Regions from separate parts of the Homo sapiens genome. Here region 2 is linked to region 1. Evidence: promoter capture Hi-C in 16 types of primary human blood cells and fetal thymus (Javierre and others, 2016). All regions are on one chromosome and are shown on one strand. The core of a region is centred on a gene start or on the middle of the fragment in contact, and the rest is flanking DNA. Distances in the headings are between cores, read along the strand shown.

The links. The method cuts DNA at HindIII sites, captures the fragments that hold promoters and counts their contacts. A CHiCAGO score of 5 or more calls a contact.
Region 2: the fragment with the promoter of ETNPPL here is called in contact with the fragment with the promoter of RRH in region 1 in 2 of 17 cell types (fetal thymus and non-activated CD4 T cells); the score reaches 6.5 in fetal thymus.

The regions. Positions count from the first base shown.
Region 1 is chr4:109,825,930-109,829,710 of GRCh38, reverse strand. It overlaps RRH (retinal pigment epithelium-derived rhodopsin homolog), which reads right to left and starts at 1,739. Exons shown (of 7, transcript NM_006583.5): 1 at 1,578-1,739. The coding sequence starts at 1,683. The HindIII fragment of the contact is 4,893 bases long and covers 1-1,889 here.
Region 2 is chr4:108,761,142-108,764,922 of GRCh38, reverse strand. It overlaps ETNPPL (ethanolamine-phosphate phospho-lyase), which reads left to right and starts at 1,870. Exons shown (of 13, transcript NM_031279.4): 1 at 1,870-2,080. The coding sequence starts at 2,025. The HindIII fragment of the contact is 7,360 bases long and covers 1-3,781 here.

The DNA of each region.
Region 1 (3,781 bases), core at 490-2,989:
TGTGCTGGACAAGTTTCTTAAGCTCTTCATCTGTATAAACTAGAGAAATAAAACTGAAGAGTAACTTACTAAATTAGTGTAAGGATGAATTATTCTGTATGTGTAAGGTTTTAGAACAGTGCTTGGTATATAGCAAGTATTCAAATGATAACATTAGTAGCAGTAGTAGTAAGATTACTATTATTATTACTGTTACAGAGATAAGAACTAAATAGAATATTTTCTGCATGCTAATTTTGTAACCAGGTCAAAAAAGGATAGTTTTGGTTGTTTTTTGGATTTTTTTTTTTTTTGGTCATCTACAAATAACTAACTAAACCAAACACTTGTATACAAAGTATTTCCATGTAATTGTTAGGAGATTTTCTCAGTCTTTTTTGCAATTACAAAAAAACTAGAACTTGTCTAGTACTTATCATAGAGGTATTCAAATGAACGAGATAACGTCACTAAAATCGCAAAACTTAACTGAGGAACTCAATTTCCAGTACTAGAAGTAATACGCTGAATTATAAGGAAGAAACGTAAACAATTATAAACTGGGTATAGGATGGTGTGTTATACTTTTCACTCTACTTTTGAATGTTTGAAAATTTTTATAAAAGTCAATCCAAAAAATAATGAACTCAATATAAGAGTTACTTCTACAACTCGTTAGAGTATAAAGTTGAAAATTAAGTGATTGCTCAATATAAAAGTTACACAATTCAATGATACATTAAAAAGATAAAAAGTTTCTGTCATTCCCCCATCCCTTTTTTTCTGCAAACAATCCTTTACATCAATGAGTGTGTAGGGAGGAAAGGGAAAAAGAAACAAATATTTGTCCAACACCTACTATATGGCATTTATGTGTCACTTAATTTTACTCCTTATAACAATCATGACAGATAACTTATTCTTATCCTTGTTTTACAGATGAGAAAATGGAAGAACAAAAAGGGAAGATACATGCTCACAGTTGCAAATATACTAAAAGATGAAATCCAAAACTCAAGAGTTTTCCAATAAGCATTCTGGAACAAGCTGAATTTTCAGACTCTGTCCTCAATGACAATATACCCTGCTCTGTCTTCTTAGGACTTTTTCTTTCCAGAACCTTTAAGTTCTTAGCTAAATTCTACCACCAAGAACAAAAATATGAGGGTTATGTATAAGAATAGTAAATGACATAAAAATATGTTTTTGCCATGGTGCATACTCTTCTCCAATAAAAACTTTAACAATCCAATAATCAAATACATAGATTTTTATGAAAGAACTATTTATCACATAGAAAACTTTTCTCAGCCCCACTTCACTGCTCTTATTTACCAAAATTCAAAATAACCTGTGGCAATGGCCATCACTAACAATGCTTTCCCTTATTCTTTCACCCACATTATCTTATTTGATCTTTACAGCCCAGAAATAGAGTATCATCATCCTCATTTACCAACGAGCAAGCCAAGTCAGGATAAATGACTTGTCAAGGTTGGCCAATAATATGGAACTTGAAACAATGCATGCCTTATGCTGAAAACTTCTGCCTTTCTTCACCCATTCTAAAGAAAAATAACTTACTTAAATATCCATACCTGCCATAATCAAGTAAGTTGCAACAATATTGTGTTCAGTCTGTGAAAAGACCGAGCCATCTTCATTTTTAGAGTCTGAACTGTTGCCTAAATTATTTCTTAGCATTTTGGAGGGAAGATACCGAAACACCCTTCATAATAAGCCTTCGATAATTATGAACTGCTTTATGAGCTACTGAGGAAAGATTTTTTAGGACCAATCATTTCCACTTAGAGACCTCAAAGAAGGGCCTTTTCATAGAGGCCCTCCCTTAACAAATTTAATTGGGCTAAAGAGGAAAGGACTTTAATTCCCAGAATAAGGGAAAAGCTTATTAGCAAAACAAAAAGAAATACCAAGCACCACACATTTTAACCTATTTGGGCATCAGTCTTCTATCTAAGGAGATTATCAAGCACACACATCCCATTTAACAATAAACAAACTCAGGAAATCAGTATAGGAGCCAGCCTTAGTCCTCTAAAACTATTCGGATTAAGGTCCCTGTTTTCTGTTGACCATTCAAGTCTTTCCATTTCGGCTCCTTTTGTTGTTTTTTTTTTCTTAACAATTTAAATATTAGTGACAAAGAAGTAGTCTCCTTCCTACTTCCAAATCTCACTCTCCTAAAGGTACCAGTATTGTTTGGTGCATATCCTTTCTTAGGCTTTTCTCTGCTTATACACATATTCATACAAGTGTTTCAGGTTTCCTCCACTTTCTTCTTGTAAATAAAAATGAGGGAAAAAAATAAGTACAAATGTATATATATAATGCAACTTGTTTTCCCATAAGGCTGTATTATAATATCCAAGTTAATAAACCCAGAATCTAATAAAGTCTAATTTATTAGTAGCTATGTATTTCATAGCATGGATATAATATGATCAACTCCACCATCCGTTAATTTCCCCTATAGTTTGATATGCACATGAGTAATTAATATTATCTGATGATAGTAATCATTGTATACTTTGCCAGAGTATCTGAATTCAATCACTGATATTGTAAAGTACAGAATAAAAATATTCTGGATTATCACATTACAACCTGAAAACCAACCTGAGCATGTTTTGTTAGAATAATAAGGTATCCCTATTACCTTTTTTCCCATATTCTTTATGCCATTAACATTATTAAAATCTGATTCTCCTCAGTTTCCTAAAATCAGTAAACATTAGAGAAATGCTTAGATGCACCAAAGTTAACAGTGTAAGCATAAAACAGAACCACTAGAGGGCTATATTTACCCACTTAGTTTAATTTTATAAAAATCCTAGAATGGCACAGCAGAAACCTAAGATAATCCTTTTGCTTCAGTTCTCTTGCCTGTGTATAAACTCAAGATGAACAGGTTGATTTATCTGTCCCAAATCTTATAGCTACCAGTACTCACATTTTTATAAATGTAATATTGTTATACCTATACTAGAAAAGCGAATCTCGTCAGTATTGTTTTCAAATGACCCTAGAGCAAAAAACATAATACCCAAGAGGAAATCACTCCCTTTAAAAAGTCTTTGTCTTTTCTTTCATTCAATATGCAAAACAAAACTTAAAATTTTTGAATTTGCTTTGGGTCATACTACCTTCCTTTTCTGTAATAAGTTATACCTAGTTGTAGCATCCATGAAAAATTTTCCAGAAATAATTATTTCTAAGAACTGAAAAATATATAATTTCAGATAGTCAGCTTTCTGCTGCAGATGAAAGTTTTGATATGAGTGAGGTAGGTGCATTTGAAGTTCTTTTTTATGCTTCCTTCATGGGTGATACAGAAAAGCTATATTGGGATAAGGCTTAGAAATACATGTGAATTTGATTCAAAATGAAATGCCTCAAAAAAACCCAGAAACTAGGCCAGGCGCAGTGGCTCACACCTGTAATCCCAGCACTTTGGGAGGCCAAAGCAGGCGGATCACCTGAGGTCAGGAATTCGAGACCAGCCTGACCAACATGGAGAAACCCCATCTCTACTAAAAATACAAAATTAGCCGGGCATGGTGGCGCATGCCTGTAATCCCAGCTACTTGGGAGGCTGAGGCAGGAGAATCGCTTGAACCCGGGAGGTAGAGGTTGCAGTGAGCCGACATTGCACCATTGCACTCCAGCCTGGGCAACAAGAACAAAACTCCGTCTCAAAAAATAATAATAATAAATAAACAAATAAATAAACCCAGAAACTATAAGGAAAAAAAAGGAAAAGATGTGGAAATAAAAGCTT
Region 2 (3,781 bases), core at 621-3,120, 1.1 Mb after region 1:
AAGAATCCATAAAGTTTTATGAAGGAAGTGTGACTATGACTTCACCAGGTCAAGGTGGTTTGAGAGTAGATATACAGTTGGCAATATCTTTCAGGCACAGAACTAGACCAAGATTACATAACTGGGATTTCTTGCAAGTCTCCAAAGTGCTTCCTGCTCTTCATTTATAAAACACGGAATTCTTTTTTTTTTCTTTTTTTTGTGGAGGGGGATGGAGTCTCACTCTGTTGCCCAGGCTGGAGTGCAGTGGCATGATCTCAACCCACTGCAACCTCTGCCTCCCAGGTTCAAGCAATTCTCCCTGCCTCAGCCTCCTGGGTAGCTGGGATTACAGGTGCCCACCACCACGCCCAGCTAATTTTTGTATTTTTTTAGTAGAGATGGGGTTTTGCTATGTTGGCCAGGCTGGTCTGGAACTCCAGACCTCAGGTGATTCGCCCAGTTTGGACTCCCAAAATGTTGGGATTACAGGCGTGAGTCACGGCGCCTGGCCTAAAATCTGGAATTAACACACTGTTCCTCATAGGACTCCATTTCTCTTTCTACCTTAGGCAATCCAATTCTACTCCTCCTGCAGTGCATGAATATATATTAATAACTTTTTTCAAGAGAAAGATCAGTTGCAAATACTTATCAAATGTGTTGATACATGCAAATTAGGCTTTCCCTGCTGCCCTTTCAAAACACAGAGAGAATAAAATGACCTATCCTTAACCCAATGACTAAGTGTTTGTGTGAACTTGAATAAACCTTCACCTTTCCTGTGCCTCACTGTTCTTATCTACAGAGCAGAGAAGTTAAACCAGATGACTTCTAGTTAAAATAATGTATGATTTAATGATTCAGTTAATTAAGATTCTATTGGGAGGCCGAGGCGGGGGGATCACGAGGTCAGGAGATCGAGACTATCCTGGCTAACATGGTGAAACCCCATCTCTACTAAAAATACAAAAATTAGCCGGGCGTAGTGACGGGCGCCTGTAGTCCCAGCTACTCGGGAGGCTGAGGCAGGAGAATGGCGTGAACCCGGGAGGCGGAGCTTGCAGTGAGCCGAGATTGCGCCACTGCACTCCAGCCTGGGTGACAGAGCCAGACTCCATCCTCAAAAAAAAAAAAAAAAAAAAAAAAAAAAAAAAAGTTTCTACCTGTGCACATATTTAGCTTCAGATATGATCTGTGTGAGAAGACCATCTTGAAGGAAGTCAAGAAATCTAAGAATGAGTCCCGTTTTCAGCATCAAGTGGATATATAATCATTAGAACAGGGAATAACCTCACTTTCCCCGTTCATTAAATGGGGTAACACTCGTGGTCATCTCTCAGGGTTGTTTTGAAGACTGAACAAGATAAGTCATGTGAATGTGTTTTGTAAGTTGTATAGTTAGAGGAATTAGAAGTGTAATCATTGTTAAAGGAGATGTTTGAAACACTGCATATATCATCACTGCCAATGGAGATAACAGGCTGAGTCCGGGTTATTTCTCGTTAGGACGCGTCCTTGTGCTGAGTAAATGGTAGGTTACCTTATCAGACTGCGCAGTGAGTCTTGATCCGGGAAGCGCCTAACTCCTGAATTTTTACCAGAAAATAAAGGACTACACTAAAAAGAAACCAGAAAGAACGTGGGAAGGAGGGAATTCGCAGGCAGAGGAGGAGGAAAAGCAAAGACGAGGCAAAGTTAGGAGAATGAAAGGCGAATTCAGAGGAATGATAGGGGCGGGTAGGGCCGAGCCGGCCTGGCAGGACAGGGTGGTGGCGAATGAGCTGCTAGCCCGGCGACCTGCCCGCGGCCCCGGCGGGGGAGGAGGAGGGGCTTGGCAAAGGGCAACGCCAGAGCCAGACTTAAAAGGGAGATGATCCTAGCTAGTTGACGCCACCGGTGACCTCCGACGCCCCGGGCAAGAGAACGCCAGGAGGGATAACGGGAGGAAGGCCGGCCGGGGCCGCCAAGGCAGTCCCAGGCTCGCGTAGGAGGCGCGCAGACCTTGCACCTTGCACCTTCGCAGCGCCCTGCACCCCGCCACCATGTGCGAGCTGTACAGTAAGCGGGACACTCTGGGGCTGAGGAAGAAGCACATCGGGTAAGGGCACCCTGGCCCGGAAGTAAGTGCAGAGAGGGGGCAATAACGAGTGCAGAAGGTGGAGAGAGAAAGCCGGCTAGGGAACAAACGATGCGCTGCAGCCGCACTCCGTGCCCGCCGCGCCTGTGCACGCGCCCCGCGCGCCTCCACCTGCAGGGGCCGCGCGGACTCCCAGAAACGCTCCTGGAACCCGGAACGCTGGGCTTCCTGCCCGCTCGAAAGTCCCCGGCTCGCTCTGCAGCCGGCGGACTAGCGGGGGCTGCCGGCCGGCTAGAGGGGTTGGTGGATGACGGCCAATAGCCCTAGCAGACACCATTCCAGGGATGGGAGATGGGTGGAAGAAGGATAGCGCTCCGCCACCCCCACACAACTCGAAAGTTTTTGGAAACTGTGAACTGAGAAATATTTTTTCATGATGGCTCCGCAAACAAACCAATTCTGACAATTTTTACTTAAAGTGAGCTTTTTCTTCTTGCATGCTTGGTTAAGTGATGAAGGGTTTATCTAGCCAATAGAAAAACTTGAAACCACCTTCTGTTAGAAAAGCAGAGACTTTATTTAGATCCCTCTTACCCAACTTGCTCTCCCAAGCTGTGTTCTTCCCAGCCTGCTTGTCTTGCCCCCGTCACAAACGACTTAGTAATATAAAGGTGAGTATATAAGACCGACAGGGGCTCTAGCTCTCGTTGGATGTCATATTCCCTGTGTGGACCTCTGTCAAATTAATTGTCTCTTCTATGAAAGTAGGAATAACATTCTACTTCACAGGAGCAAGAAGATGAGATTAATATGTTAGTGTTTTGTGCGTGGTTTTTAAAAAGATACGTGTAAATATAAATGATGATTAATGACCCCGAATACTGTAAAGTCAACCGTCTGCAATATTCACTTGAAATGAACGACTGCAGCCGGGCCAGTGGGCATGAGAGAGCACTTGGGGTTACAAGGAAGAAAACAATCCGCATCCTCTTCGGAGGAATGCTGGACAGTTTCTCAGACTGAAGCTCCTCACCCCAACTGGAGGGGTTTCTGGGTGGTTTGGAAGACTAGTTCCATCTCTCTCAGCCGCTAAGTGGGATCAAAATAATCCAGTTCTTTCCCCATTAATCAATCACTACCCTACTTTTTCTAATCACTCACTGCGTTAGTTTTCAATCTTAGTTAGATTCCGGTAAATGCCTAATGGTTTCTGACATGAGCAGAACAAATTTTCTAAAAGCACGAGTGTAGCCATGGGCTGACTGGATAAAGGAGAATTTTACCTGAAGTCTGACGGGCAAGGTGGAAAGTGTATTAAAAAGGCAATGTGAAGTCTGCAGCTTTCAGCTCACATCCTTAACAAAGTTTTTTTTTGGATTTTAACTTGTAGGTATAAACTAACAGCTGAGTTTGAACCAATAAGAAATTCTTATAAAATACTATTTTCATTTCAGCTGATGATGCTTAAAAAAAATCAATATATAACACAACCTTATGCAATTTTAAAATTTGAGGTTACCTACTGTTTGTAATAATCAAAATTCCTTCTAAACAGTTACATATCAATTTAGTATATTTCTACTACTAGAACTACCTCCAATGTGTGTGAGGGTTTTTTTGTATGTATGCAAAATCACCAAAATAAATAAATATATTTAACTTTAGTTCTTAAATGTTCATAAAGCCAAGATTAGAAGCCTTTGTGAAATTTCTATGTGCTAA